Regions from separate parts of the Homo sapiens genome. Here regions 2, 3, 4, 5, 6 and 7 are each linked to region 1. The links are contacts of gene promoters, found by promoter capture Hi-C in blood cells and fetal thymus (Javierre and others, 2016). All regions are on one chromosome and are shown on one strand. The core of a region is centred on a gene start or on the middle of the fragment in contact, and the rest is flanking DNA. Distances in the headings are between cores, read along the strand shown.

Region 1 (3,064 bases), core at 274-2,773:
AATAGGGGATGGAGATATATTTCTGAGTTTATTAAGTATTAACTCACACGATCACAAGGTCCCACAATAGGCTGTCTGCAAGCTAAGGATCGAGGAGAGCCAGTCCAAGTTCCCCGACTGAAGAACTTGGAGTCCCATATTCAAGGACAGGAAGCATCCAGCATGGGAGAAAGATAGGCTGAAAGTCTAGGCCAGTCTCGTCTTTTCACGTTTTTCTGCCTGCTTTATATTCTAACCGTGCTGGCGGCTGATTAGATGGTGCCTAGCTAGATTAAGGGTGGGTCTACCTTTCCCAGCCCACTGATTCAAATGTTAATCTCCTTTGGCAACACCCTCACAGACACACCCGGGATCAATACTTTGCATCCTGCAATCCAATCAAGTTGACAGTAAGTATTAACCATCACACCAAGCTTTTGCTGGAGCCTCTTGATGACAATTTTGATTGAGTCAGAAGGATGAATTTCGCAGAGATGTTGGTTATATTAACAACTCATTGCACAGATGGAGGACCTGAGGTCCACATCCAGCTACAAATTTCTGCCTGCCTCCTGCCTCCAGGCTGATCTGGGGACGTGTTGGCCTCTCAGCATTATTGCCCATGCCCTAGTCTGGTAGAAGAGTGGTTTAAAAGTGTGACTGTTTTATTCTTCATAAGAATCAGGCTGCCTTGGTTGAAATTGTGGCCCCATCACTTTGCAACTTTGTGGCCTCTGGCAAGCTATGGCACTTCACTGACCCATATATGTGATGGAGATAATGATACGGTTATTACAGGAGCACACTTGATGATAGGTGTAAAGCACTCAGTACAATGCCTGTTTGTAGGAAGCATCTAATAAATTCTAGTTGCCAGTATAACTAAGCACTTGCCCTATTTTTCAAATGCTATTTTAGCCAGATCAAATAGGTAGGAAAAAGCCTGTCAATCATGAAGTTTATACTTTCCTGTTTCTAAAAAGGTACACTTCTAAAAATTTATATAATTCATTTATAGCTATTAACTTAAACTTGGAAAGTTTGGATATTTGGTCTGTCTTCACAAGTGTTTATCTGAGCCCTACCTCTCAAATTAACATGTATCACCATTGATGTGCATTATGTTGATTCTTATACCTATTATATGCATGTGTGAAACTAAGCCCCATAAAAACAGAATTTAGGCATTCCTGCTGAAAGGAAGTGAATTGAAGGGAAGAGAAGCAGAGCCTTTGCAAAGAGAAAATTGTCCTATCTCTCAACCAGTGTCAGAATGTGGAAATGTTTACAAAATGCTCATTAAAAGAAATAGGGATTGCAAGATAGAAACAAATTCTGGTGCACAAGTTTACACTAGGGAGATAAGAAAGGCTAGGCCCCTATAGGGGATTTTGTTATCCAATTACTGCAACCTGACTTTTAGGGGGAGAGGAAGAGTGGTAGGGGGAGGGAGAGAGAGAGGAAGAGTTTCCAAACTTGTCTCCAGTGACAGGAGACATTTACGTTCCACAAGATAAAACTGCCACTTAGAGCCCAGGGAAGCTAAACCTTCCTGGCTTGGCCTAGGAGCTCGAGCGGAGTCATGGGCTCTCTGGTCCTGACACTGTGCGCTCTTTTCTGCCTGGCAGCTTACTTGGTTTCTGGCAGCCCCATCATGAACCTAGAGCAGTCTCCTCTGGAAGAAGATATGTCCCTCTTTGGTGATGTTTTCTCAGAGCAAGACGGTGTCGACTTTAACACACTGCTCCAGAGCATGAAGGATGAGTTTCTTAAGACACTAAACCTCTCTGACATCCCCACGCAGGATTCAGCCAAGGTGGACCCACCAGAGTACATGTTGGAACTCTACAACAAATTTGCAACAGATCGGACCTCCATGCCCTCTGCCAACATCATTAGGAGTTTCAAGAATGAAGGTAAGTTTTTGCTGATGAAATTTTGCTAGGATTTTTTTCAAGACACAATAAGTAAATTTACAATGCATGGGAATGATATAGGTAAGGGTAAATACATCTATATAAGGATGTTAAATACATATGGATACACAAAAACAAGGCACATTTTGTTCTATACCAATTATATAGTCATTTCAGGAACCTCGAAAAATACTTACAAACATCTTTTAATCCAAAGCCACAAAACATCTATCAATTTGACATCATAATTGGGTCCTTTTAAAAAATGTTAATTTGAACACCAAGTAATACAAAGAATTAATGTTGGTCTACTGCCGTACCTTTGTCATTTTCCAAATAGGCCTTGATTGCCATATGGGCTTTTAATTAACTAAAAAATTTCTCAACTTCTACTTAGAATAAAAAGGGTAAAAACAGTCAAAAAACATCAAATTGTGATTTGTGTTTTGTTCAAACTTTTGATAAGTTTTTATTTTGTGACCTTATTTAAGAAATGTTCAAACAGGATGGAAATATATTTTAAAGATTCTTCCTAAGGCTGTGTTGTTTGATGTGTCATGTACATCCTTAAAGCACTGTTTACAGTTTCCAGGAAGTGTAGATGGCCCATTAATCATCCAGCTCATCATTTCCGTCTTTATAAAGAGCAACGTACAAGCTTTGAATTATTGGTGGGAAAAGTGTGTTTTCTTCTCTTAGGTCTTTAAATTTGGTAACTAAATCTAATGAGCTAGCAAGTTAATGTTTTTGTTTGTTTGTTTGTTTGTTTGTTTTTTGGTTAATATGGTCCTAGTAGGAAAAAAAACCCCTGATATCTAGATATCTATAGTAGAAGCTGAAGGTCCAAAGGAACTAATTTAATTTTTGCCAGTTATGCTTTTATAGTCACTAACCAGGTATAAAAGAAGCTTCCCGTTAATATTGGCCAGATGTTCTTGAAAGAAGAAAGGTAATAGTGAAGAAATAGCTCAGGATTTGGGATTTTGAGAGCTAGTTGGCTTAGTGGTTGTGAATAATTAGCTGATGCCTCAGAGCCTCAATTTCCTCATCTATAAAGTGGGAGTAATAATACCTACATAACATAGTTGAGTGACTCAAAGGAGGTTACAGATAAGAAAGCACTCCATTTACTATGAAGTGCTGATCAAACTTTAGTGACTACTAATGAG
Region 2 (3,064 bases), core at 404-2,903, 420 kb after region 1:
CCGTTTCCAGGTGGAACATACAGCAGAAGTCCGTTCTGTCACGAAATCATCAAATGTGTTTGTGGCTTTCAACACTGGAGGAAGGTGGAGGTAGGACCTCTTGGAAATGCCTCATGTAACCCTCCTTTACTCTTCTTGGATTCTCTTCTTCACGCCAACTGGCAAACTTCTCAATCCCTTTTGGGGTGGGAATGCTGTACTGCACTTCATTCATATCCTATCTTTTTCTTCCTTCCTATATCTGGTAGTTCATTTAATAAACACTGTTCTAGATTCTCTAAAGGGAATAATTTGGAATTAAAAAGACCTTTTTCTTCCTCAAGTGCCTCTATCATTTTGTTGTGCCAACTGAAGAATCACGAGGTTCATGAATGTGGAAAGGAGAGCTTTATTTCTTATAAAGGGTTGCAGCCTGCAGGCTGGCCATCCCACAGCCTGGGAAGGGTAGCTTCTGGCAGAAACCAGAAGCAGGTACTTCTAGGGAGGGAAGGGTAAGACAGGAATTTAGGCTGAAAGGGTCAGCTAAGTATATACATTTAACAGGCTATAGGAGGAGCTATGAATATTCACAAAAGGGGAGTGCACTCATGCACAGCAAGCTAACATGTATGTTACCTACATCCTATGTTCACTTTAGGATGGAAACTTAACATTTAAATGTATTAAAATTAGGCTCTATACGTCAAAAGCTGAAACAGAGGACACAGAAGCATCCTGTGTGCAGCTTCTGTAAACCGGCCAGAACCAGTCCATGGTTAGTGGCCTCTTATCAGGAAGGAATGATGGTCAGTTGTTGTGTCAAACTGCAAAAAGGAAGAAGAGTCCAGCAAGTCTTCAGAAAGGGCCTGTTTCTGTTTAACACTTAGGAGTGGAAGTATAATGGCAAGTAGCAAGGGAGGGAGTATAACAGGGCATGTCTGACCTCCCAATCCATCATGGCTGGGAATTCAGCTTTTAAGATTTCTCTAGGATCTCCTTAGCCAAGAGGGGAGTCCTTTTAGTCAGTTGCAGGGGGGACCTTTGGATTTTATTTTCGTTTCTCAGTTGAAAGCCTAGCAGTTAAGACTTCTGAGTCTTCTATGCTTGAAAAAAGTCTTTTGAAATTCAAAGCTGAGTTCTGACTTCTTTATTCTCGGCTGTACCTACCAGACCCACAAAGCACTGGATGCCTGTCTTTCCAGGCAGAGAGCTGCAGAGAAATAAGAATTACTGGGCATGGAAAATACAGCGGAATGTATTACAAAAAAAAAACAACCCATTCTAGTATTACTCTACACAATAAAATAATGCTGGAAAAGGAAGAAAGAGTAAAAACTATAAAGAACAGCTGAGACAGAAGAAGGTAATAAACAAGGCATGCGGGTTGGGTTTCTAATAAAAGCTTGACATCCTTATATTGAGTTCTACCACAAGTAAAACTGACTTTTTTCATGAACCTGTTTGCATTTTCCAATACCTCCTTGTCCTTACCCAGTCAGGGCCGGATGGAAATAAAAAAAGATAAAACTGCAGTTTTACAAGTACCACACCAATCATACTGTATTATCATAAACATTAACTGCTCAAGAAAAAATTTTTCTTAATTAATTAATTTAGTTATTTATTTTTAGAGACTGGGTCTCACTATGTTGCCCAGGCTGGCCTCGAACTCCTGAGCTCAAGCAATCCTCTCCCCTCAACCTCCCAAAGTGCTGGAATTACAAGCATGAACCACTGTTCTGGCCCAAAAGAAATTTTTAATAATCATTTTCTGAGGCCTACTTTTCTGCTATGGGTCTTCTGTGCCTTGTAGGGGAAAAAAACCCAGCTGCTGGTTTCCCAGTTTGCTCATTTTGATTTACTTTTAATATGACAAAATTATACAGTCCATTTGTCACACAATGAAATCCTGATAGAAAATATGTAAAACCATAAAAGAAGCTTTCTAAAAATCACACGTGAGAATCTCCCCCACTTATTGCTGTGGTTGTGTTTTTTTGTTGCCTAACAAGTAGATTGAGCACAATTTCCTGTCTTTATTCTCATTGGTTAGTGAAGAAAATAAAAAGGACTGCTTTTGCCATTGTTTTCCTGTGTATGGCCTACTTTTTTCATCAGTTCAACTTTTTTTTTTCTCTCTCAGACTTTTATTATATATTTTTAAACGTGCTTTCTCCCTAAATGTTTTATTTTGAAAGTTTTCACTCTTACAAAAAATTTCAAAGTCTAGAATATGGCATCATCACCTAGATTAACCAATTGTTAACTTTAACCATGTGTGCTTTATCTCTGTCTATACCAGGTCCCTAAACTTTATCACTATTAACATTCTGGGCTGGATAATTCTTTGTTTGGGGGAGGGGCAGGGGTGCTGTCGTATACACTGTAGAATGTTTAGCAGCACCGCTGGCCTCTATTCATTAGATGCCAGTAGCACCACTTCCCAAGTGCTGGCAACCAAAAATGTCGCCAGACATTGCCAAATGTCTCCTGGGGGAAAATCCCTCTTGTTAGGAACTACTGGTTTATACTACATTTTAAAAAAACACCTAAATGTCCATCAACCAAGAAGAGTGGATAAAGAATAGATATCTATAATATGTATATTTATATATAATATATATTATATATTTTATATATAATATATATAATTTATATATAATATATAATATATATTTTATATATTATATATTATATATATTATATATAAAATATATATTTAATATAATATATAATATAATATATATATATTTTATATAATATATAATATATATATTTTATATAATATATAATATATAATATATAAAATATATATTTAATATAATATATAATATATTATATATAATATGTAATATATAATATATAATATATTATATATAATATGTAATATATAATGTATATTATATATTATAATATATAATATATATTATATAATATACATTATATATAATATATATTATATATAATATACATTATATATAATATACATAATATACATTATATATAATATACATAATATACATTTTATATATAATATATATAATATACATTTTATATATAATATATATAATATACATTTTATATA
Region 3 (3,064 bases), core at 376-2,875, 400 kb after region 1:
AACTCCTCCATAAAATAAAGTCTATTTTAAAAACTAATATATTAAAAAACAATGTTTGTAAAAGTTAAACGGGATCATTGACATAATGTGATCATCCCACAAGCCTGGTCAACACCTACCCAATTATCCAACACACCATATCTTAGAGCCTTAAACCACGCAAGCCCTTCCTTACACCACCCACTCCACCTACCAAAATTCTAACTGTCCCAACACACCACAGTCAAACTCAACATGCTACCAAGTTCATGAAGCTTTCTTTCCCTGATCCCACCTCTTAACTTCAGGTTCCTTCTTATACCTCTCTGTACCCTGTGACATCATTCTGTCTAGCTTGAGGACTAAGCTCTGATTATTATTTTTTTTTATCTTGCCCAAATTCCTTTCTAAGGGGTCTGGGGAGTCATGCCCTACAAACCATAAATTCTCATCAGATGAGTTTTATTTAACCCTGTATAACGTGACTTACTTTCCAGTCTGACTCAGGCATAACAAGGAAGAAAATCAAAATGTTTTACCCTAAAATATATTTCTTTGCCATACCTTGGAACTGTCCTGCAAAGTCTCTTGTGGGAAAAACCCACATTCTATAGAGAATTCCCTTTCCCCTTTGTTTTCCTTCCTTCCTTTCCAGATCCAGGAGATAATCAATTAAGAGCCAGGCACTCTTTCAGGTCTCATAAGAAACATTTTACAACCTGCTATCTCTGAAGTCCGCTATCTGAGAGCTCTGCAAAATAAAACTTCGTCTCCACAATCCTTTATCTTAACCTGAACATTTCCTTTGATCTTAGGTCTTGAGATAAACTCAACTAATTGTCAACCAGAAAATGTTTAAATTTACCTATAGCCTGGAAGCCCCTGCTTTGGGTTGTCCTGCCTTTCTGAACCAAACCAATGTATTTCTTAAATGTATTTGATTGATGTCTCATGCCTCCCTAAAATATATAAAAACCAAGCTGTACCCTGACCATCTTGGGAACATGCTCTCAGGACCTCCTGAGGGCTGTGTCACGGGCCATGGTCACTCATATTTGGCTCAGAATAAATCTCTTGAAATATTTTATAGAATTTAACTCTTCATCAACAGACTCATGGTATTTAACCAAAACTTTTAATAAAAATGTGACCTTTTAAAAATCAGTGATTATATCTAAAAATTCAAATTTCTTACTATTCTTAAAAAAACAATATGACACTGTTACCAACTGGGAATAGGGGAAAGTAGCAGGGATTGCATAGAGACCCTCTCCTTGTGGCCTTCCCAACACTGAGGCAGAACTGTTGTCATTTATCACTGTCCCTGTGTTGTTTTTCTTCTTCCCTCCCACTTCGCTTACTCCAAGTGTCAGCCTGGCGCCAGTCCCCATGTGAGGTTGTAGCCTTATTTAGTTACTAATACTTGTTTATTTGTCTCTTAACCCTACAAAACTATAAGTTTCTTGAGAGCAAAGACTTGTTTCTCATTCACCTTTATTTCTCCTATACTCCCTCCCATCCAACCATAGTATATATTTATCAGCTATTTCCTGAATTTAGCGAATTATCAATCAACAAAACAGGAAAAATGTTAAAACTTAATTCATTATGAATGCTACTCAAGATTTAGCAGTTGGTAGGACTGCATCTTTACTATATTTAAATTCACTTCAAAACTCAATGATAACCCTTTTTCATATCTAAGTCACAATTAGGCTCTTTTTGAGGGTAGAGTGAATGAGAGGCTGAGATGCCGAAATGGAAGGAAGAAATCACGTGTTAAAGGCCTACTGTGTGCTAGGCACTGGTTGTAGGCTAAATAATAAAATGAGGGAAGGGCAAATCTAGAAATAAAAGAAACGTAAGGGAAGAAACCTATGTTGGAGCAGGTAGGAACAGCATTCCAGGACAGCCAGGATTCTGCAACAAGCAGTTAAAAGTATAGAGCTGCCAGGTCAGGGGATGGTTACTTTGTGTAAACTTTGTAGAACATTTACAACATTCTTAGAAGTGGTGAACTGATGCCACCTGAAGAGTCTATACTGAAGCCTATGACCTTCCCTGTTCCCCCAACTGAGGACTCTTCTCCTTTTAATCAAAGCAGTCAATTTAATTACATCTACATTGAGAAAGTATCACTAGATATCTTTTGCTATCTTGTTTCCTAGGAGGAAAATAGATCATAAAGAAATGTGTCATATAATCCCTGCTGTCAAAACAAAATAAGAAAAATCTGAAATCAGAAATAGTAGATTTCATTTAAGAGTGTAACAGCTTTAATTAAAACCCATAAAGCAAATACTTTGGCCTAACAGTGCTTGACATGTCGTACTGTAAAACCCTTTTAAATTAAATTTCTTAAGATAATGGTAGATTCACATGTAGTTGAAAGATATAATATAGAAATATCTCTTGTACCATTTATCCAGTTTCCCCTAATGGTAACGTCTTACAAAACTATAGTACAATATATCAACCTAAGATATTGATACTGACACAGTCCAGACAAAGCACATTTCTATCACCACAAATATCCCTCATGTTGCTATTTTATAGCCATATCCATTCCCTTCTGCCCTGCTGCCTAATTTTTTAACCTTTGGCAACCACTAATCTGTTCTCCATTTTTGAAATTTTGCAATTTCGCAATTTCAATGATGTTATATAAATGGAATCACACAATATGTAATCTTTTGGATTGGCTGTTTTAACTCAAGTTCTCTGAAGATTAATCCTGCTGTAAAACCTTCTAACTGATGCCAATCATGGAGCAGAATCAAAATCTAGTAAACAAAGACCTGGGGTTCTCTGATGACTCACATGAAAGCAAAGGGAACAAGAAAGATTAAATTTCATTGTCCTTTGTTCTCTGTGACAGGTTTCTCTGTTGTGTTTTCCTACCACCATAAAAATACAAAACCATTCTCATTGTCAAACTGTTTTACTACCAAGACTATTTTACACAGTCAGATTATAAACTTTTATGTTTGTGTGGCCATCAAGGTTTGTGAAGCTTGTCTCAGAAAAACATGCCCAATTAAGAAAGTTCAAAATCATCCTTATTTATATTAATCGTTTCCGATTC
Region 4 (3,064 bases), core at 158-2,657, 380 kb after region 1:
TTAAAAAGCAACAAAACAAAAAGGCAAACGAAACCCTTGGCGATGTTTCTGAAATCAGTAGACTAGATATGAAATATATCATTCATTCAACAACTGTATATTGAAATGATTGTCCTCATTTAACAAATAATGAGATTAAAAAAACCTGCCCAAAGTCATGGAAGAGTCAACAACAGAGCCTCAAGCCTAGAATCTAACGGATCCCAAAACCTTGCATGATAGTTTCCATTCATGACAGACATCTACTGGGGATTCTTACCAAGAAAATTCATAAAATACGAAAAGTCTGTATATAATATGTACTTACCAGAAAACATTTCAAATACAAGAAACATATAGTATGTCATGATGATAAAGGTTTTAAAAGGAAGAGATCCCATGCTCGAGGATCTGGTAAGTGTAAAAGGGTCTGACTATAGGCTTTGGGGTCAAAGAGACCCAGATCAGGCAGAACTGCATGCAAACTCTGGGGCCATCAGCAGCAGTTAAGAGTTCAGGAAGGCAAGAAGGGGAATAGTGAAAACCAAACATTTTCAGTAAGAAATAAATTAGCATTTTTTAAAAATATCTATTTGCTTCCTGTTTTGAGCCAACAGTGTTCTACTTAGGCTCACAATCATTTCCACATACCAAAGTTCAAAAATTGTTTGCATGTTAAATGCTGACAGTGCCAATCAAAGCTTTCCCTTTTCACTGTAAATACAATAGTTAAGATTGCCTTTTTTATTTGTGGTTGATTGATAGATAATGAAAACATGTTAAGCACCAACTTCAATAACACCATAACTACCTGACCCATCTCTTGGTAACCTTGATATTCAGCACTTGAATGTTGGCATTATCCGCATAAGGACCAAAATTATCAGTAAAAAATAGACCATACCAACACATAAACTCAATTAAACCTATTAGTTCCACAAAAAATGTGAAACTGCCAGGAGTCAGTACTCATTTTTTTAACCAGATAGCTGTTCCACACTTAAGGCTGTAACATATAGACAGTAATATCAAGCATCGGAATGAGTATCACATGAATGAATTTTTCACAATCTATTGTTAGCCACAATGGCTATCCAAGAAGTAAGTACAAACTAATAATCTATTGTTTCAGAAAAAAAGAGGCTAAAAATTTAAAGATTCCTTTCTTTTTCCCAGATTGTACCTTTTTTTTTATTATTATACTTTAAGTTTTAGGGTACATGTGCACAATGTGCAGGTTAGTTACATATGTATACATGTGCCATGCTGGTGTGCTGTACCCAATAACTCGTCATTTAGCATTAGGTATATCAGATTGTACCTTAGTAGGCTAAAAACAACAGCAGTTATCTGATGACTCATTGCATCATTTGCACAGAACTTTCACTTAAATGTTGTGATTCAACATAACATTGCCATAGCTATTATTAACACTTTACATAGAAATTGAAAGTCCAGAGAATTTAGGTAACTTGGGTAGGTCACTCTCCAAGTAGGCAGCACTCCAAATCCACACTCCTTTTAATAAAAATAGGTAATAGGCAGGGTGTGGTGGCTGCAATCCCAGCACTTTGGGAGGCTGAAGTGGGAAGACTCCTTGAGCCCAGGAATTCAAGACTAGCCTGGGCAACACAGTGAGACCCCCATCTCTACATAAAGTAAAAAATTAGCTGGACAGAGGGCATGTGCCTATAGTCCCAAATATTAATACTTGGGAGGCTGAGGTATGAAGATTGCTTGAACCCAGGAGGTCAAGGTTGCAATGAGCCATGATCGTGCCACTGCATGCCAGCCTGGGGGACACGGTGAGACCCTGCCTCAAAAAAAAAAAAAAAAAAAGATAATAAATGTAGAACACATTTATACATGACTGTACCTACATGTAATCATTCAAAAGTAATTTCAAAAAATGCGGCTGAGAGTAAGCAGTTCCTATTTCTGACTTGGGTACCAAAATCTCATTGTTACTTCCATACTACGAACCAATTTTCTAACCAACAGAGTAATAAGCTATCAAATATAAAACTATGGCATATAAAGCTGGTTCCTTTAACAGTCCATCTTAAATTTCTTTCTTTCCTTTTTTAAACTGTATTTTTTCAGGAAGCAATACATGAACTTTTCCTATCTCTGTCTTTCTTTGAAGTAAGCTTCACTGACACTACGAAGATAAAAGACATTTTAAGTAATATAAAAGTATAATGTGACCTCTAGTGGACACATAACTCCACAACAGTGTAATTTCATTACAAGCTATGTGTCTTTATAGAATACAAAAAGAATGCTATAAACAATCTTTGAAATTAACATCACTCAGACATTTATAGTGTTCCTTTTAAAGTAAAACCCTAAATAGTGAATACACAATAAAATAACCATTTGCACTTTCTCAATGGGAAGCATAAAGGTTTAATAAATTATCATTAAAACATTTTAATGTCACGATTGATATACGGAGAGGGGTGGGGAGCAAGTGACAAACAGATTATCCTAAAGATCTGATGATCTGCTTTATTTAACAGCCTATCACTGCTCCTTATACAGAGTGAATATCCAACACATTTTTATTATTTATTAATACATCAACTGTAATAACAATCAATTATCAACACCAAAGCACCATTCTAGACTTGTCATGTATCATCTTTTTCAGTCTTCACAAAATCTGTGAAGATACTATTATTATACTTCACTTCATAGGTGAGAAAATGGAAGTACAGAGAGTTTAAGCAACTACTCAGTTACACAACCAATAAGTAGTAGGGCCAGGATCTGAACCTAAGGAATCAGATTCCAGAACCATTCATGCTCTTAACGTTGTATTGCATCCCTCAATATCATTACATGAAACCTAAAGCAAAACCTGTTTTTAAGATGATTTACCCAGTTTAACTGTCAAACTAGAACACAGTAAAGAACTGGAAATAAGGCAGAAATGGCTATTTAATAACCAAATAGACATTCAGAGGAGATTCAGATCCTAAATAAAGCTCCAAGAGGCCCTCAGGCTTTCATTTGGTCCTGCTTATCTAATGGCATACCTAAGTCTAACAAGATATGTCATCCAAATTCTTAATTCTCTATT
Region 5 (3,064 bases), core at 349-2,848, 370 kb after region 1:
ACATTAGCCTGAATTTGATATTTATTATTCCTATGCATGTCTTTATACTTTCATTATTTGTATATATGCATCCATTATTTTATAGAAATTATGTATGTTTTATATGTTTATAACCTTTTTGGGTTTTTTCCCTCAACATTATGGTAGGGAGATTTATCCATGTTTTAACCTGAGCTCTCTCTTAGTTCATTCTCTTTCATATAGTTATAGGACTACACCAAATTTATTTAGCCTTTCTGCAGGTGTTTTCACAATTCAAATGAGTGCTATAGTAAACATTCTCATACAGCAGAGGGTAGTTAGTAAGAGCATCAACTCTGGAAACAGCTGGCTTGAGTTTGGATCCCACCTCTGCCATGTATTAAGCTGTGACCTTGGGCAAGTCTTAAACCTTCTGTGTCCCAATTTCTTCATCTGTCATATAGGGATATTAACAATACCTAGTCCTCATAGAGATTATTATGGAGAATAAAAAGTTCATACATGTAAAGCTTGTACAACAGTAAGCAGTGTTTTTATGTGGTTGACCCTGCAAAACAGAGCTAGTTCAAAAACAGGAAAACCCCAACGATATCAAGAAACGTCTAGAAGTGTATTTCAATGCTTCCTATCTAATACATAGTCCACTTCCCCTTGCTAGCAGACAGTGGACTCTCCCTCTCTGGAAATCAGGCAGCTGCCTCCCCCGGGTAGACATCTCTCATGATGATACTGCAATTCAAGATCTGCCCCCACCTCCCCTCATGGCTTCTAATCTAATAACTAGGGTTAACTCATCATTACCTGACTACAGAAGTACTGTCCTTGCTTCAATAGGAAACTAAATATTCACTAAGAAGCTACAGGACCTAGCTAATGGCAGAAACCACAAGAATGTGCCTGTGATGGTATGATATAGTAAGAAATACATATTTTGGTCTTCACTTCTGGTTCCTGGCTAGAGCTCTGAAACAGGTGAAAGGAGCGTCTTTTGTTATTCACAATATACCCCTTTCAACCACACCTGAATGTATGTTAATGAGGTGACTTTTGGAAAGCCTCTAAAGATGAAGGGCTGGTTGTTAGGAAAACCAATCATGATTAGAGGGTAGGAACTCCCAGCCTCACCACCAGGGAGGGAAAAGGGGCTGGAGATTGACTTAATCATACTGGTCAATGATTTACTCAATCATGCCTTTGTAATGAAGCCTCCATAAAAACCCAAAAAGACAAAGTTCAGAGGACTTCCAGGTTGGTGAACAAGAACATGTCCATGTGCTGGGAGAGTGGTGTACCCCAACACTCCACTGGAACAGAAGCTCCTGTGCTGGGGATCCTTCCAGACCTCACCCTATGTATCTTCTCATCTGGCTGTTAATTTGTATCCTGTAATATAGCACTTGTAATAAATCCGTAATCTAGTAAGTAAACTGTTCCTGAGTTCTGTGAGCCCTTCTAGCAAATGACAGAACCCAAGGTTTAAATAGCCTGAGAAAAGTACAGTGCTGTGAAAGTGGGTTTATTTTCAGTTTCATCAATACGAAAAAATTCAAAATTCACTAATCCCATAACCTGATAAATTTAAAGTGTGACACTTGCCCTAAAGACACTGGTCTTTCACACTAAGGGAATAAGCTAATTTGAATCAATATAAATGAAATTTAAATAGACATATAATAGCTTAAATAAGTTATCAGGTAATGACCATATTGTGTTTCATAAGGATGCACATTTTCCTAATTTTTGAAAAAAGTATGTAATTCTATTATGAAAGTTTATTGTAACAAAAAAATCAGTTCTTTACATGTCTCATTTCAACAGCTAGTTTAAATAGCACGCTTCATACATGTATGATAAGAGAAAAAGACATGTACTTTAAAGTAGTAAGCAATGATTAATGAATTTCATTTAACTAAAAAGCAACTTCCTGACATTTTTTTCCACTTACATTTAAGCATTTTTAGATATAATTTATATATGAAATGCACATATCTGAAGTGTGAAATTTGATTAGTTTTGACAAATGCGTACACCCACATAATCTGCACCCTTAACAAGACACAGAATATGTCCATATTTGTTTAAAAGCTGAAACAAAGCCAAACAAAAAGCTCCTTTGTAGCTTCTTACTAGTCAATCCCCTTGGAAACAACCATTGATTACATTTCTATTTAACAGATTAGTTTACTTATTACAGAACTTAATATAAATGTAATCATATAATAGACACTTTTGTGGCTTGCTTTTCTTTTTGGTAGATTACTAAGGATTTTCTAAATACAAATCATGTCATCTGCAAATAAACACAGTTTTACTTCTTCCTTTCAAATCTGATATATTTTATCTTTGTTGTATTCCCAATCTTAGGGGAAGAACTTTCAACATTTCACTAATAGGTTTTTTGTAGGAAAAAAGTTTCCTTCTTTTTCTTGTTTTCTCAAAACTTTTAAAAATCATGAAGAGGTGTTGAATTTTGTCAAAATTATTTTTGAGCATCTATTAAAATGATAGTTCTTTAGTCTGTTATGGTGAATTGCTTCGATTTTTATACGATAAACTAACCTTGTATCCCTTGGACAAGCCCCACTTGGTAATAGAGTATTATCCTTTTTACATATTGCTGGATTTGATTTGTAAATACTTTATTATGAGGAATATTGGTCTGTAGTTTTGAGGGTTTTTTGTAAAATCTTGTCTGATTTTAGTTTCTAAATTACAGAAGCTTCATAAAATGAGTTGGGAAGTATATCTTCTTTTATTTTTTGAGAAAAAAGAATAATATTGGCATTATTTCTTCCTTGTAAGTTTAATAGAATTCATTAGTGAAGATCCTTATGGGAAATACTTAAATTATGAATTCAATTTTTAAAATGAATATAGAATTCATCAGATTTCTATTTTTCCTGCATCAGTTTTGTTTTTTAAGAAATGTACCCATTCATTTTAACTGCCAAATTTATTGGCATAAAGTTTTACGTAATATTTCCTCATTATTCTTCTAAGGTCTGTAGTAGCAGTAATGATATCCCCTCTTCTACTGTTGATACTGATAATTTGTGTTTTCTCACTTTTTTCTCAGTAAGCC
Region 6 (3,064 bases), core at 170-2,669, 330 kb after region 1:
CATTGCTAATAAAGACATACCTGAGACTGGGTAATTTACAAACAAAAAAAAATAAAGCTATATTATTTTGTTTTTTACATTTAGTACTATGAGTCATCTGGAATTCAGTTTTTGACTATGGTGTGATATAAGGGTCAAATTTTATTTTTTCTTCAGATGAATATCTACTTATCCCCTTATAATTAATTGAAAAAATTCATTTTTCTCAATACCTGCAACGTCCCTTTTCATAAATATGTCACCTTACATATATAAGCCTATTTTGAAGTACCATTCTGTTCTGGTCATGTTACTTTATCTTTGTGCCCATACCACACTGCTTTAGTAACTATAAAGTATAACACATCCTGCCACCTATTCTTCATTATGTACGATTGTCATGGCTATTTTTATCCTTTGTAATCCATATACATTTTAGAATCACATTGTAAATTTCTTTATAAAAGCTAATATGATTTTGAATCAGTTTGTATACAAATCCATTTGAGGAAAACTGGTATTTTGACACTACTGAATAATTCAATCATGAACATTTTGATCTTCATAATTATTTAGGTCTTTCTGAAAAACATTTTCTCATTTTTACATTTAAAGTTTTATAGTTTTCTTCATAGAGGTTTCTACGCCTTTTATATTTATTCCTAAGGACTCTTTACTTTTTGATGTTATAATCTTTAAAAAATTTTATTTTCTTACCGGTTAATGCTGGAATATACAAATACAATTGGTTTTATATATTGATTTTTGTATCCAGTAAGCATCCTAAGCACTTACTAAATTTATAACTCATCAGTGGGCCACTTTGTATTTACTGCATATACAATAATACCATCTGTTAACACAAAGTTTTATTTCTTCCTTTGCAATCCTTATCCATTTTCCTTTTCTTGTCTTAGTATACTGTCTTGAATCGCCACATAATGATGAACTGAAGTGGTAATAACAGGCATTCTTGTCTCAGTTCTGATTTCAGAAAGGAAATTTTTAATATTTTAAGTATAATATTTGCTATAAATTTTTTGTAGATATTCTTTTTGATATTAAAGAAGTTCCCTTCTATTCTTACTTTATAACAAGTTTTTTTCATAAATGAATGCTGATTTTGGTTTGTCAGGTTTTTTTCTTTCCAATCATCTATGGAGATGGCTTTTCTACTTATTCTGATGACATGGTAAATGAATTTATTTTTTAACATTAAAACATGCATTCCTTAGATAGACCCTATTTGGTCATATTATATTTTCCTTTTTATTTATCACTTGATTCTCATAACTTTTCTCCCCTCAGGATATTTACAACTATGTTCAAAAGTAAGCTTATCCTATAATTTTTCATTCTTGTATTATTCTTGCTGGGTTTTGGTATCAAACTTGTGCTGGTCTCACATCATGAATTGGGAAATACACCCTCTTTTACTTTCTTTGGAGTAGTCTGTGTAAAAATGAAGTGCTTCTTCTTTAAATGTTTGTTAGAACCTGCCATTAAAACCAAACAGATCTATCACTTCTTTGTGGAAAGCTTTAAATTATATATTCAATTTCTCTTATATTAACTCAATTTTTGATTGTATCTGTTTCTTAAAGTTGTATTTTTCTAGGAATTTGTTAATTTCTCCAAAAATTTTCAAGTTTATTGGTAAAGTTGATTATAATGAACACTTACCTTTCAAAAAAAGTATAAGTCATTCTCCTTTCTGGTCCTAGAAACTTACTTTGCCTTCTCATTGAAAACCACAATCACAGAAATAGAAACAACTTCAAATAGCCCAGTAGGTTCAGCAATCTGTATTTAAAATTATCTAAGAAAGATGGCTGTCTGGAATTAAAGCTCTGTAAAGCTGAAATCACTACTTTTTTCTTTGATAGTTTGTTTCATTTCAAGTTCATTCATCTATTAAGCAAAGTTGCAAGATACAAAGATGAGAGTCCTTGCTGTCAAGATACTTGCTGCCTGTAGGAAAAGATGTTCTGATAAAGAAACAAACATAATCTCATGAGATAAATCCTACTCTGTGCATGATACGGACAAGGACAAGATGCCATGAAAACTGAGAGGAGAAGTATTCTTACTCTTCCTTTAGGATTGGACTTTCTGTGTTGGCAAGAATAGTGGAGTAGTAAAAGTTGAGGAAGCAGAGGGATGCAGAGATAACATCCCAAATAGATTTATATGTCACACCTAGGACATACAGAGTGAATTAAGTGTATATTGGGGTAGCATCAACAGCTTTTAAGTGATCTAATTTGCATTACAGAAAGTTGGAAATAAGGAAAAATTTCAGGCACTCGTAGATGTGTAACTTCAGTAATTCAGAATTAGCTAAAAGAAATATCATCCTACCTATTACCAACATGAAAACCTGTAATCTACAGAAGTTTAAAAATGAAAATTAAAAGGCTTGAGATAACAAGCTGCTGTCAGTTTCTCCTAGATAAGTAACAGAGATAAGAAAGAAAAGGAGTGCAGCCAAACATTCAGTTTCTATACCTATAACAGGATGGTCCATAGGGACATTCAGGCCGGTCATCAGTCTCATCTTGGCCCACGATTTGTACACCTCCATAATCACTATCACCAGGATGGCTAAAATGTTGAAAATGAACAGGATTCTTCCTAGGAGGGCGACAAATATACTGTCAGAAAAAAAAAATAGGATATTCTAGATTTTTAGTGGATATAGCAGGAAACCAGACAATCCACATCTGGCTATCCTTGAACATAAACCAACATGCTACATTGATGACATAAGCGCAGATTACATCAACATGCTAAATTGATGACATAAAGTTGATGACATAAACTCAGTACAGGACTCTCACAGTAACATACTACATTTCTGGTGTCATGTGATGAGCCATGATATCAATAGACAACTTGCAAACATTACTATATATATGACACATATGTATGTAAGCATATAACATAAATATCATAAATATATATAGCTTTTCAAAACTTTTAATAAAATGAGCACATATATTGTACCCTCTGCTAAGATAAAAAACAGAACGTTTCCAACATCCTAGAAAGGTCCCATGTGCCCTCTTCAATCACTAAATCCATT
Region 7 (3,064 bases), core at 234-2,733, 290 kb after region 1:
CAGATGAATGGCATTGTTTTACATTTTTGCAAATCTCTTTAATGTCTGTCTTCTCTAGAAGACAGGTAGATTCCTGTATCTGCTCTCCTATGTTGTTTTGCTTAAAGTACATGGAGCAAACCAGGCCTTACACAGATATGTAGTTGAAAAGGAAGGAGTATTTTAATAGGCTTTTCAGGTAATGGTGGATATTCTTCTTGATGTCACAAAAATAGACAAATTGCAGTTTCTGGAAGATTAGTTGAAATATGGAATCTGAAACCATATTAATGAACTTAACAGACTCTGTTACATTAAGTCCATTGCTTCATCTTACACTTTGACTGGATCTCTTACCCATGCCTGGTTTTATAACATCATACACTGGTTATGTGGAAAATGTTGGCTTACTAAGTTTTGCAGCTCTTCCAAATATTGATACATTTTATTATATCATATCACCTACAATATCATCAGAATAGTTTTTAGAGTTTTGAAAAGCTATCAAGCTAATGGTGATGAATCCAAGTTCTTCCAAAATTCTGATTTTTGCTTAAAAGCTCAAATTTCAGCATTACAGCAAATACTGTTGGTTGTTTTCCTTGAAAACAGGGCTCATTTAGTTCATGTTTGATAAAACATCTGCCAAATACTGAAGTTTGAATAATCATAATATGTCTGCCAGTCATTCTTTCAAGTAAAAATTTTGTTCCATAAAAAAATCTGTTAGTTCATCCTGCAACTCAATCACACCAAGATTTTCTCATGACTGAGACTGTATATACTTCAGTATACAGCCAGAGGGGTATTTCTGTTACACTCTAGCTTCTCCTTCTCTGACTGGTCCCATTCTATCCACTATGTTATTTGAATGCTTGCCTCATTGCCTTTGTAAAATCTTTTACTGTAGATACCATTTCTTTTTCTTTTTTGTATCTTTCATGGTATTTAGTAGTCACTGTCACTGAATGAATAAATATCCTATTGTCCAGAATAGAGAGTAAGCACATTGAAAATAGGGACTCTATGTTATTCTTTGAATTGCTGACACCTAAGACAGTATCTTGGGCACAACAGAGTATAAATGTGGTTGTTTATGATGATAAAGTTTATTATGTACATTATATTAGGGTGGCCAATAATAATCTCAATCATAATTATTCCTTATCACTTTACTTTCAGTACATATTGTAGAGGTGAAGCTTTGTAGGCTAGGTTTGTAGATTGGCAGGAAAAGATCCCCCTCCCCCACATGCACACACCATTATGGACTCCTGGCCAACAAAGAGACTGAATGGGAATGAGGTGGTCTCACAGAGCAGGGCTGGATGCAGCGTGCTGGTGGACAGTTTCCCCCTCAGTGAGGTGTGCTGGTGACACTGAACAATTAGTTGTAAGAAACTACCCATTTACTCTCAGCTTTACATCAACATTCTGGAGTAATTATGCTCACAATCTATCTGCTTTCATTACAATGAATGTTTAGGATCCTCTAGTTCTAGAAACTCAGTATCAATAGGGCCATCCTCAACCAGGGGAAAACACCAAAGTCAGTGTTCAAGTGTCCCCCAAAACTCTTCAGGTCTCCAGTTTCCCAGGGTCCTAGAAAACCCATCCCCCCTCAAAAGTTTAGCCAGAAAATATTTGCTTTTAAAATTAGGCACATAGGTGAGAAATGTATATATGATAATTTTTACCATGACAGAGGAGGCTGGGATATAGTTTCAGTTCCAGGAACACCATGACAGGGAGAATTGGCTCTTATCCACTGTATAGAACAGCAATTAATTTAAAAAATCAAGCTTTGTTAATGGTGCTCTTGAGACCACTGACAGCCTAATGTTACCGGTTTTCCCTCTGTTTTGGAAAACACAGATCTAAACACAGTCCAATTACACTTTCATTTTCATTACACTTCAGTCAATTAAGCTATACATTTATTTATACAATAGTTATACTCAAAAGTGTCTTCAGGATGATTATGAAAGTTGCATTAAAACTGTATCGTTAAAAGCAGCTACCATGAACTATTACATTACTACGAAGAATATCCTTTGATATTAAATATTTTTTTCCTTCTAAAAGACTGGTATTACCCTTTGCATTACTTTTTTGTGACAGATTTATTGAAATATATAGTTCACGTGCAATGAAATCTACCCTTTGAAAGTGTACAATGCATTGTTTGTAATATATTTACAGAGTTGTGCAACCATCACTGCCATCTAATCTTAGAACATTTTTATCACTCAAAAGGAAATCCTATACTCATTAGCAGTCACTCCCCATTCTTCCTCCCCAAGTCCCTGGCAACCACAAATTTGCTTTCTGTCTTTATGGATTTGCCTGTTTTGGAAATTTCATATAAATGAGTTCATACAGTATGTGGCCTTTTGTGTCTGGCTTCTTTTACTTGCCTTCAAGGTTCATCTATCTTGTAGCATGTATCAGTACTTTATTCCTTTTTATGACCAAATAATATTCCATTGCACAGATATACCACGTTTTGCTTATCCATTCACCCAGTTGATAGTTGATAGACTTTGGGTGTTTATACTTTTTGGCTGTTAAGAATAATGCTTCTATTGACATTGTGTACAGTTTTTATGTGGAAATGTTTTCAATTCCTCTGGGTATATACCTAGGAGTAGATTATGTAACACTTCAAGGATTAAGTTAGTGGCAGGGATGAGAATAAGTTAAATATTACATTCGTAGATTTGTTATACTACCAAGGCTAAAGGGACATTATAAGGGGAAAAATAGTTCCCAAATAACAATAAGAGATAAAAATCAGAATAATAGGTTATAGTCTAGAGAAATGTTTATCTTATTCTTGTTCCAGTTTAAGTAAATATTAAATATTGTATAATTACTGGGAGATATATTTTAAAGCAATGAGAAAATATTATTATAAATATGTTTTGATCTTTTAAGATATAAATTTTTAGGTTCCTTTAGAGTAGAAAATAATAGCATTTAACAAAGATTCTTTTGGCTTAGTGATTTATGATTTCAATAAATATCTCCTGCTCTGTGTACACAACCCAACTGTTATTAAAGATTCTAAACTACATTTTAACAA

What was found. Contacts are between HindIII fragments. The CHiCAGO score rates a contact against its expected background, and 5 or more counts as called.
Region 2: a contact is called between a fragment that was not itself captured here and the fragment with the promoter of BMP10 in region 1, in 10 of 17 cell types (activated CD4 T cells, naive CD4 T cells, M1 macrophages and 7 more). The highest score is 7.9, in activated CD4 T cells.
Region 3: a fragment that was not itself captured here is called in contact with the fragment with the promoter of BMP10 in region 1 in 7 of 17 cell types (M2 macrophages, naive B cells, total CD4 T cells and 4 more); the score reaches 6.6 in M2 macrophages.
Region 4: a contact is called between a fragment that was not itself captured here and the fragment with the promoter of BMP10 in region 1, in 15 of 17 cell types (activated CD4 T cells, naive CD4 T cells, naive B cells and 12 more). The highest score is 14.6, in activated CD4 T cells.
Region 5: a fragment that was not itself captured here is called in contact with the fragment with the promoter of BMP10 in region 1 in 7 of 17 cell types (naive B cells, total CD4 T cells, naive CD4 T cells and 4 more); the score reaches 9.6 in naive B cells.
Region 6: a contact is called between a fragment that was not itself captured here and the fragment with the promoter of BMP10 in region 1, in 4 of 17 cell types (naive CD8 T cells, total B cells, total CD4 T cells and 1 more). The highest score is 6.9, in naive CD8 T cells.
Region 7: a fragment that was not itself captured here is called in contact with the fragment with the promoter of BMP10 in region 1 in 3 of 17 cell types (total CD8 T cells, naive CD8 T cells and naive CD4 T cells); the score reaches 5.9 in total CD8 T cells.

Annotation. Positions count from the first base shown.
Region 1 is chr2:68,869,856-68,872,919 of GRCh38, reverse strand. It overlaps BMP10 (bone morphogenetic protein 10), which reads left to right and starts at 1,523. Exons shown (of 2, transcript NM_014482.3): 1 at 1,523-1,895. The coding sequence starts at 1,562. RefSeq lists a silencer at 1,547-1,707. The HindIII fragment of the contact is 2,140 bases long and covers 416-2,555 here.
Region 2 is chr2:68,451,660-68,454,723 of GRCh38, reverse strand. No RefSeq gene overlaps it. Among named protein-coding and RNA genes, the nearest start is that of FBXO48, 14 kb to the left of the region's middle. The HindIII fragment of the contact is 539 bases long and covers 1,384-1,922 here.
Region 3 is chr2:68,469,815-68,472,878 of GRCh38, reverse strand. The region is part of intron 1 of APLF (aprataxin and PNKP like factor); the gene reads right to left. Among named protein-coding and RNA genes, the nearest start is that of APLF, 3.8 kb to the right of the region's middle. The HindIII fragment of the contact is 2,738 bases long and covers 257-2,994 here.
Region 4 is chr2:68,487,084-68,490,147 of GRCh38, reverse strand. The region is part of intron 1 of APLF (aprataxin and PNKP like factor); the gene reads right to left. Among named protein-coding and RNA genes, the nearest start is that of APLF, 21 kb to the right of the region's middle. The HindIII fragment of the contact is 1,449 bases long and covers 683-2,131 here.
Region 5 is chr2:68,503,947-68,507,010 of GRCh38, reverse strand. The region is part of intron 3 of APLF (aprataxin and PNKP like factor); the gene reads right to left. Among named protein-coding and RNA genes, the nearest start is that of APLF, 38 kb to the right of the region's middle. The HindIII fragment of the contact is 2,210 bases long and covers 494-2,703 here.
Region 6 is chr2:68,544,736-68,547,799 of GRCh38, reverse strand. APLF (aprataxin and PNKP like factor) reads right to left here. Exons shown (of 10, transcript NM_173545.3): 8 at 2,488-2,613. Among named protein-coding and RNA genes, the nearest start is that of APLF, 79 kb to the right of the region's middle. The HindIII fragment of the contact is 203 bases long and covers 1,318-1,520 here.
Region 7 is chr2:68,578,998-68,582,061 of GRCh38, reverse strand. It overlaps APLF (aprataxin and PNKP like factor), which reads right to left. Exons shown (of 10, transcript NM_173545.3): 10 at 1,900-3,064. Among named protein-coding and RNA genes, the nearest start is that of PROKR1, 63 kb to the left of the region's middle. The HindIII fragment of the contact is 600 bases long and covers 1,184-1,783 here.